Regions from separate parts of the Homo sapiens genome. Here all the other regions are linked to region 1. Evidence: promoter capture Hi-C in 16 types of primary human blood cells and fetal thymus (Javierre and others, 2016). All regions are on one chromosome and are shown on one strand. The core of a region is centred on a gene start or on the middle of the fragment in contact, and the rest is flanking DNA. Distances in the headings are between cores, read along the strand shown. Region 1 holds the start of RPS15A (ribosomal protein S15a). Region 2 overlaps NTAN1 (N-terminal asparagine amidase). Region 3 overlaps MARF1 (meiosis regulator and mRNA stability factor 1).

Evidence for each region. Contacts are between HindIII fragments. The CHiCAGO score rates a contact against its expected background, and 5 or more counts as called.
Region 2: a contact is called between a fragment that was not itself captured here and the fragment with the promoter of RPS15A in region 1, in 1 of 17 cell types (neutrophils). The highest score is 8.3, in neutrophils.
Region 3: a fragment that was not itself captured here is called in contact with the fragment with the promoter of RPS15A in region 1 in 2 of 17 cell types (fetal thymus and activated CD4 T cells); the score reaches 8.6 in fetal thymus.

Annotation. Positions count from the first base shown.
Region 1 is chr16:18,788,884-18,791,893 of GRCh38, reverse strand. RPS15A (ribosomal protein S15a) reads left to right here and starts at 1,560. Exons shown (of 5, transcript NM_001019.5): 1 at 1,560-1,650; 2 at 2,776-2,913. The coding sequence starts at 2,781. It overlaps ARL6IP1 (ARL6 interacting reticulophagy regulator 1), which reads left to right. Exons shown (of 6, transcript NM_015161.3): 6 at 1-225. RefSeq lists enhancers at 1,323-1,952, 1,890-2,607. The HindIII fragment of the contact is 4,087 bases long and covers 1-3,010 here.
Region 2 is chr16:15,046,528-15,049,537 of GRCh38, reverse strand. NTAN1 (N-terminal asparagine amidase) reads left to right here. Exons shown (of 10, transcript NM_173474.4): 2 at 1,439-1,541; 3 at 1,618-1,683; 4 at 1,988-2,096. It also overlaps a transcript of PDXDC1 not described here. Among named protein-coding and RNA genes, the nearest start is that of NTAN1, 8.0 kb to the left of the region's middle. The HindIII fragment of the contact is 4,295 bases long and covers 1-3,010 here.
Region 3 is chr16:15,637,757-15,640,766 of GRCh38, reverse strand. MARF1 (meiosis regulator and mRNA stability factor 1) reads left to right here. Exons shown (of 27, transcript NM_014647.4): 2 at 1,476-1,677. The coding sequence starts at 1,534. Among named protein-coding and RNA genes, the nearest start is that of MARF1, 3.9 kb to the left of the region's middle. The HindIII fragment of the contact is 6,127 bases long and covers 1-3,010 here.

The DNA of each region.
Region 1 (3,010 bases), core at 311-2,810:
ACAGTGGTGCCCATTGTAGCATATGTTTGATTTTTTTTTATTATTTCATAAGAAAACTACGTTAATTTTACCTTACTTTCATTGTAAATAAGCCTGTCTTCCTATCTGGATTTTTTGTGTGCATACATATTCTACTGATTAACTACTTTTGCAGTTTTAATCCTGTATTATTTCTTCTACTTTGTTTTGTGTAAAAGGGGAAAAAATAAAAAAAGCTGGAATCTTCATGTCTCACTTTCTTTATAACTTAGCCAATATAATATTTATGATTGGATTTATGAATCTGATTAATGAAGTACCCTGTGTGGTCCTTAGATGTCTATAAGGTACCCTACCTGTAATCCCACCACTTTGGGAGACCTGGGCAGGAGGTTCACTGGAGTCCATGAGTTTGAGGTTGCATTGAGCTGAGTGTACCCCTGCACTCTAGCCTGGGCAACAGAGCAGGACCCTGTCTAGGAAAAATTTTAAAAAAGAACAAAAATAAAAGGTTTAAGTTTTATTTAGCAAATATCCAGGTACCATGCTAGAGGGAAGAGGAAATGCAACGAATGAGCAGGGGCATTGACGTGTGAGAGAGGACGAAGCTGGAAGAACCGGCAGGGACAGAACTGGCTAAATGGTGCCTGTGTGGGCACCTCGTACCCCAGGGCCTTGCTAGCGTCTGGTACATGGGTGCTCAGTAAACAACTGTTGGGTGACTTTTGTCTGAACTTAACTTTTTAATTAAAAAAAAATTTTTAGCCGGGTGTGGTGGCTCACGCCTGTAATCCCAACACTTTGGGAGGCCGAGGTGGGCAGATCACTTGATGTCAGGGGTTTGAGACGAGCCTGGCCAACATGGTGAAACCCCGTCTCTACTAAAAATACAAAAATTAGCCGGGTGTGATGGCGGGCGCCTGTAATCCCAGGTACTCTGGAGGCTGGGGCAGGAGAACCGCTTGAACCCGGGAGGCGGAGGCTGCAGTGCGCCAAGATCGCGCCACTGGACTCCAGCCTGGGCGACAGAGCGAGACTCCTTATCAAAAGTAAACTAAAATAAAAATTAAGGCCCGCGCGGTGGCTCCCGCCTGTAATCCCAGCACTTTCGGAGGCCGAGGCGGGCGGATCGCAAGGTCAGGAGATCAAGAACATCTTCGCCAACTTGGGGAAACCTCGTCTCTACTAAAAATACAAAAATTAGCCGGGCGTGGTGGCGCATCTCTGTAGTTCCAGCTACTCAGGAGGCTGAGGCAGGAGAATCACTTGAACCCGGGAGGCGCAGGTTGCAGTGAGCCGAGATCACGCCACTGCACTCCAGTCTGGGCTACAAGAGCGAAACTGTCTCAAAAAAAAAAAAAAAATGTAGACGAACCTCCAACGAACGGCTCACCTTGCCTCTCCCAGGCCCCACCGGGGGAGGTCGATTCCATCGACTCTCAACTGCCAACCCCTGAGGAGGCTCCGCCTTTCCCTCACCCTCGTCCTTCTCCTAGGCGGTCCTTGTTTTTGCCGGGCCTTTGAAAGTCTCGCGATAGCTCTCCCGCTTCCCATAACTCCGTGCGCTCTCCCCTCCCGTCCTCTTTCCGCCATCTTTCCGCGCCGGTGAGTAGCACTCTCTGAGAGCTCCAATTTCATCCGTCTGCCATCGGCGCCATCCTGCAATCTAAGGTTCGGTCTCGGTGTCCTGCGAGGAGGCTGGTCCCCACCTTGGCCGAGGATCCTGGCCTTGCCGGTTCCTGGACAGGCATAGAGGAGAGCCATGGCTGGGCGCCCCAGACTGTGCACTCAGGGGATCCCGGTCCGTGGGGTGCAGGCCGCAGCGCGGGCGGGAGCCGGAGCCTTCGACTGCCCAGCTAGGCGGTAGCTCCGGTTCGGGCCGCAGCGTCTGGATCTCCCTTTAGTGCTGAGGCAGCGCCTTGGCCCCGGGCGGCGGGCAACATCGGGGCTGGTGGGCCGTGCAGCTTCTCACTGCTGCGGCCGCGCTGGGAGCTTGGGAGGCTGAGGCCACCCAGCAGGTAAAAGCTGCATCGTGCCGGGGTTGGCAGTTTGCTGGGTGCCAACTTGGATCTTCTGGGCCGCAGAGTTTTTCTTTAGACACTTTTGAACTTAAGGAATTTAAGTTCTACTCTTTACTATTGGCACTTTGGTCTTTCAAAACTTCAGTGTAGTGTGCGGTTCTTGCCCATTAGAAGAGAGTCCAGTCTGACAAGCATGTAAAATGTTTCTGTTTGCCACTGTGGCTCTTGCTGTTGGACGCAATTTTAAATGGCACGAAGATGGATGTTTAATAGTTAGATGTGTTCATTGTAGGTGAGAGTGAACTGATTTAAAGTACAATGTTAATAGTATGGAATCTGCTGATTTTCAGCAATTTGGAAAATGTTGCCGATGATACTCTGCTTCTGTTCTGAATCACTGATCGACTATACCCGATGTTTTCCTTCCGGTAGCTGGCAGTTTCTGCCAGTTCTCACGTTGTCTTGTGTCAAGTGGATTTTGTCCCACATTTTATTATCTCCAGACGTTGGTGTGTGGCACGATTCGAAGAAGAGTGGTTAGTGAATGAATGAGTTTCAAAATGTGCAGGCTGACGTCCCGATAACCTGTTTTCAACAACCGTAGTAAATAGGAATTTTCCTGGGTGGTGGGAAATGGAGAAGCAGCCTGCTTAGACTTGAGAAAACTTCGCCAAGGTGGGGCCAGAAAGGAAAGGATACTTCCGCAGTGTAATGGTTGGTGTCTGTTGATGTTGGCAATGCCAGTAAAACCTCCTGTTTTGTCTTCCTTGAACAGCCACAATGGTGCGCATGAATGTCCTGGCAGATGCTCTCAAGAGTATCAACAATGCCGAAAAGAGAGGCAAACGCCAGGTGCTTATTAGGCCGTGCTCCAAAGTCATCGTCCGGTTTCTCACTGTGATGATGAAGCATGGTAAGTCTGCTGCCGCTGTGTTTTATGTTTTCATGTGAGACTCTCTAAGAAATCAGTCCTGTAGAAATTAATTATGGGGGACCAAAGTATGTCTGTC
Region 2 (3,010 bases), core at 266-2,765, 3.7 Mb after region 1:
AGAATCGCTTGAACCTGGGAGGTGGAGATTGCAGTGAACTGAGATCACGCCACTGCACTCCAGCCTGGGCAACAGAGCGAGACTCTGTCTCAAAAAAAAAAAATAAGATAAAAGAAATAACACAGGGATGAACATATTTTGAGTTATTTCCTTAGGACAGATTTCCAGAAGTGAAATTACTAGGTTAGGGACTAAGGTAAAAAAGCGGAGGCCAGGTATGGTGGCTTATGCATGTAATCCCAGCACTGTAGGAGGCCAAGGTGGGTGGATCACTTGAGTCCAAGAGTTTGAGACCAGCCTGGGCAGCATAGGGAGGCCCCATCTCTACAAAAAGTATAAAAATCAGCCAGGTGTGGCGGTGTGTGCCTGTACTCCCAGCACTTTGGGAGGCCAGGGTGGGTGGATTGCTTGAGCCCAGGAGTTTGAGACCAGCCTGGGGAGCATAGGGAGACCCCGTCGCTACAAAAAGTATAAAACTCAGCCAGGTGTGGCGGTGTGTGCCTGTACTCCCAGCACTTTGGGAGGCCAGGGTGGGTGGATTGCTTGAGCCCAGGAGTTTGAGACCAGCCTGGGCAGCATAGGGAGGCCTCATCTCTACAAAAAGTATAAAAATCAGCCAGGTGTGGTGGTGTGTGCCTGTACTCCCAGCACTTTAGGAGGCCAGGGTGGGTGGATTGCTTGAGCCCAGGAGTTTGAGACCAGCCTGGGGAGCATAGGGAGACCCCGTCGCTACAAAAAGTATAAAACTCAGCCAGGTGTGGTGGTGCAAGCCTGTAGTCCCAGCTATTTGGGAGGCTAAGGTGGTAGGATCGCTTGAGCCTGGGAGGTGGAGGCTGCAGTGAGTTGAAATTGTACCACTATACTCCAGCTTGGGTGACAGAGTGAGAGACTGTCTCAAAAAATAAAAAAGAGGGGATGTGATTTCAGAGCCATCCATCCACTATTCCTGTGTAATCTGATTCTCTTTACAATGGTAAAATTGTTAAGAGTCTCACACTCTTTAGTAAAGAACTGTGATAGCTGGGTGTGGTGGGTCATGCCTGTAATCCCAGCACTTTGGGAGGCCAAGGCAGGAAGATTGCTTGAGCCCAGGAGTTCAAGACCAGCCTGGGCAACATAGTGAGGCCCTGTGTCTTTAAAAAACAAACAAACAAACAAAAAACTATAATAAAGGATTTTTGCATCTCATTTCATAGGTTACTATGACATCCGATTTCATAGGTTAAAAAAACCACCGCGCAGAACCGCATCGTTTTCTCTGCATTGTTCTGAATGACCGTGGCTGCTGCCTTTTTCTTTGAGCCTCTCTGTCCACTAACACACTCCCCACACACTAGCGTGCTGCCCACGCAGAGCCCACTTTGGCTCTCTCCACATCTTTAGTTTTTCCATCCTCACTAATTTACATCACTATTTTATTTTTTTTTTAATTAAACAGGAAAGAGCCAGACTTCTCAGAGGTCAGTCTGTTCAACAAGTGGGACCCCAGGGCCTTCTGTATGTTCAGCAAAGAGAGCTTGCAGTGACCTCCCCAAAGGATGGTAGGTTAGGAAGCAGTGAATTGGGCGTTATCCCAAAAGGCTATTGGATATTTTATTTTATTTCTTTTTTAAACAGGCTCCATCTCCATTCTGGGTTCTGATGATGCCACTACTTGTCACATTGTGGTCCTGAGGCACACAGGTATGATGAGAGAGGTGAAGGAAACCATTACTTAAACTGACCCAACCTTTGGGACCATTGAATTTCTCGTGTTGAGTTTCCTGGTGTCTTGTTGGAAGCGGACTCCGCTTACCTTTTTTCTGGTCTGCATGGTGTCTCCCTGGTGTCCTGGTCAGAATGGGTTGGCTGGGGAGCACAGACCTGTCCGTTTTTCCCCTACAGGATATTCAAAGATGAGGCGGTCCGGAGGGACAGGCGGAGTCTCGGCCTGCGCACTGCACTCGCATCAGGGAATAACTTGAGTCCTTTCACCCTTGTTCTTCAGGTAATGGGGCCACCTGCTTGACACATTGTGACGGAACCGACACCAAAGCTGAGGTCCCCTTGATCATGAACTCCATAAAATCCTTTTCTGACCACGCTCAATGTGGAAGGTGAGATCTACGCTGCTCTCATAGGTGAATTGAGATCTTGGAACCGTCGCATACAGGACGTGGCTGTGGAAGCTGTTAGGGGAACACAGGATGCCACCACTGCCGTGTCTGCCTCGTTCCCCTGGAACAGAACCTGGCACGACGTGGGCACTGCGTCAGCAGTGGTTGAGTGAATGAGTGGGTGCTGGGCACAGGCAAGGAGTCTGTGCTGGATTTGAGATGGAAGGCTTGACTTTGAACTTGATGTCGTCTCAGGAACGTCGAGGTTGCGATTTTCACATCGTTTTGCTCTCCCCCGGGTGTGGTAGCTCTCCATGCAGTCATTCCTCCCGCAGTTGCTTGTTAAATGCTTCCTCTCACCTACACCTTGTAGTTTCTAGGGACACAGCAGTGAAGAGTAGACAGAAAGCCCGGCCCAAGGTGTTTGTATTCCGAAGCCGAGAGACTGTACACAAGATGGGGTGTTGGGTGGTGAGGCGGGGCTGTGGAGAAAACGAGGCCAGGAAGATGTGGGGACCGCTAGGGGGCGAGGCATGTAGTTTTTTTTCTTGTTCTCTTTTTGTTGTTGAGATAGGGTCTTGCTGTGTCGCCCTGTCTGGAGCACAGTTGTGTGATCTCAGCTTACTGCAGCCTTGACTTTGTGGACTCAGGTGATTCTCCGACCTCAGCCTCCCAAGTAGCTGGGACCACAGGTGTACACCACCATACCCAGCTAGCTTTTTTTTTTTTTTTTTTTTTTTTTTTGGTAGAGACAGGGTTTTGCCAAGTTGCCCAGGCCGGTCTTAAACTCTTGGGCTCAAGTGATCCTCCCAGCTGAGGGGTATAGTTTTAAATTCCAGCAGATTGGTAGTTTCCCCAAGGATTGCTGGATAAGAAGCGGCCTCTAGCCTGGGTGCCCCCACAGCACCTCATCC
Region 3 (3,010 bases), core at 189-2,688, 3.2 Mb after region 1:
CTGTGTCCCAATTAAACTTTATTTATGGACACTGACATTTTAATTTCATGTAATTTTGTTTGTTGGTTTTTGAGACAGGGTCTCACTCCGTCGCCCAGGCTGCAGTGCAGTGGTGCAATCACAGCTCACTGCAGCCTTGACTACGCAGTCTTAGGTGATTCTTCCACCATAGCCTCCTGAGTAGATGGGGCTACAGGCATGCACCACCACGCTCAGCTAATTTTTTGTAGCCATGGGGTTTTGCCATGTTGCCCAGGCTGGTTGGGAACTCCTGGGCTCAAGCAATCCACCCACCTTGGCCTCCCAAAGTGCTGGGATTGCAGGCCTGAGCCACGGTGCCTCGCTTGCATTTATTGTTAAGACCTGTAAGAGTGTTGTTGCTCTGGCGTAGATATAACACATCTGCGACTTGAGATTTTTCTATCAGTTAGATTTTTGGTGGTATATCAGATTGCACTTTCATCATTAGTAAACTAAGAAATTGGTTCAATTTGTTCTGTAGCAAATCAAATTCAAAGTCCACAGAGGCCACTTAGTTTGGACTTTTCATGCTCAGATCAAGAAACCAGTGCAAGAAGTTGCTCTTAAGTCAATTTTAAAATCTTACATATAGTTGTCAATGAGGATGTGGTGGTGGCTCTTTTACTCAGATTAGATGCTCTCTTCTGTTAACTTTTGACTTTCCTGAGCAGCATCTTTAGGGAGAGAGAGCCGAAAAGAATTCAGAAAAACTGTAGAAAAAATTGATTCCAGCCAAGTGAGGAGGTGAAGTCTCACTCTGGAATATGCAAGTTTCCAAGATATGGCTACCTCTCTCAAACATGGTTACATGTGGAAAGGAAACAAGACTCATGGAGAGTTCATTTTTTATTTGAAGAGCTATGAAACATGAAGAATGGCAGATTATAGATTTTTTAAGAAATCAGGTTGTTGCAGTTAGATTTTAAGCATAAACAGTCAACCAAGTTTACCAAATTTTATTAACCCGTAATATGCTCTGATATTTTGTGTTTTTTTCTTTCTTTATTTTATTATTATTATTTTGTTTGTTAAGATTTGAATTGTTGGCCGGGCGCAGTGGCTAATGCCTGTAATCCCAGCACTTTGGGAGGCCGAGGAGGGTGGATCACTTGAGGTCAGGAGTTCAAGACCAGCCTGGCCAACTTGGTGAAACCCCATCTCTACTAAAAATATAAAAATTAGCCAGGCATAGTGACAGGCTCCTGTAGTCCCAGCTACTCTGGAGGCTGAGGCAGAAAAATCGCTTGAACCCGGGAGACGGAGGTTGCAGTGAGCTGAGATCGTACCACTGCATGCCAGCCTGGGCGACAGAGCGAGACTTCCTCTTGAAACAAAGATTTGAATTGTTGAGAGCCATAGGACTGTAAATATAGCTGTGGTTTCACATTTTAGTATGTTGTAAAATTTGTACTTATGCAAGGAAATAACACTGAAATCTTACTCATTCTTAACAGGGTGGAAGAATGAAAGAAAAGAAAGATGAAAGGATGTTGAATCACTTTGCATGGCTGTATGATGGAAGGAAACGGAACTGAGAACTCCTGCAGTAGAACACGTGGATGGCTTCAACAAGATAATGATGCTAAGCCATGGCTTTGGAAATTCTCTAATTGCTTTTCTCGTCCTGAGCAGACGCTGCCACATAGTCCCCAAACGGTAACTATATGCAAGACTAAGGATGTAGCAGATTCCTCATCCAAATAGATGAGAGAGGTCCATTTGGTCTGGGATACAGTCTCTCATCCTAGAGTCTGTGCCACATTTTTCTGTAGATCTTGCCTGTATTGCCTCTTATACCACATTATAATGTGAGAGCACAGCACAATTTTTTAACTCTTCTATTTCACTTTGAGTAACAGTAGATGCCTTGAATATTTAATGTTAAAATTTGGGAAAGATTTCTTCCTCATTAAAGTCACAGGTAACAAAGATTAAAAATCCACATTGTGGAGTAAAATCAGAGGAAAATACAAAATATGTTGTATTTTACTGTAGCCCTCTTGAGTTTTGAGTCTATAATCTAGGAAGGGTTGGGAAGAGCTTATCCACTGCCTGTTTTTTATTTCGAGATTTCTCTTGAATATTTACTTCTCAGTATACATTTATGTCTCTAACTTCTTGCTTACTCATTGTGATTTTGACATTTTCTTTTTTTTTTTTGAGGTGCAGTCTTGCTCTGTGGCCCAGGCTGGAGTGCAGTGGTGCGATCTCGGCTCATTGCAACCTCTGCCTCCCAGGTTTAAGCAGTTCTCCTGCCTCAGCCTCCTCAGTAGCTGGGATTACAGGCCTGTGCTGCCATGCCTGGCTAATTTTTGTATTTTTAGTGGAGACGAGGTTTCGCCATGTTGGCCAGGCTGGTCTTGACCTCCTGACCTCAAGTGATCCTCCCGCCTCAGCCTCCCAAAGTGCTGGGATTACAGGCGTGAGCCACCGCGTCCAGCCAATTTTGACATTTCCTGACTTCATGCACTCATGTTACCACCTTTCTATTTCTTATTTTCTATTGTATGTGGGATTCAAGTGAGACTGTAATATAATTTTATATAAGGGTATTAACAACTTTTATTTGATTTTATTTTTTGAGACAGAGTCTCGGCTCAGCCCCCTAGGCTGGAGTGCAGTGGCACGATCCGGGTTCACTGCAACCACTGTCCCTAGTTCAAGGGATTCTCCCGTCTCAGCCTCCCTAGTAGCTGGGTTTACAGGCACTCGCCATTATGCCTGGCTAATTTTTGTATTTTAGTAGAGATGGGGTTTCACCGTGTTGGCCAGGCTGGTCTTGAACTTCTGACCTTAGGTGATCCACCCGCCTCGGCCTCCCAAGTGCTAGGATTACAGGCGTGAGCCACCGCGCCTGGCCGGGTATTAATAACTTTTTAAAAACCAGTTTAATTCTCTATTTTCTCTAGGTTTTCACTATATAGTTGTCTTTGTTGCAAGACATCAAGTAATTTGGGTCATTTTAGGAGTGTTTTATTTTAGAGACAGT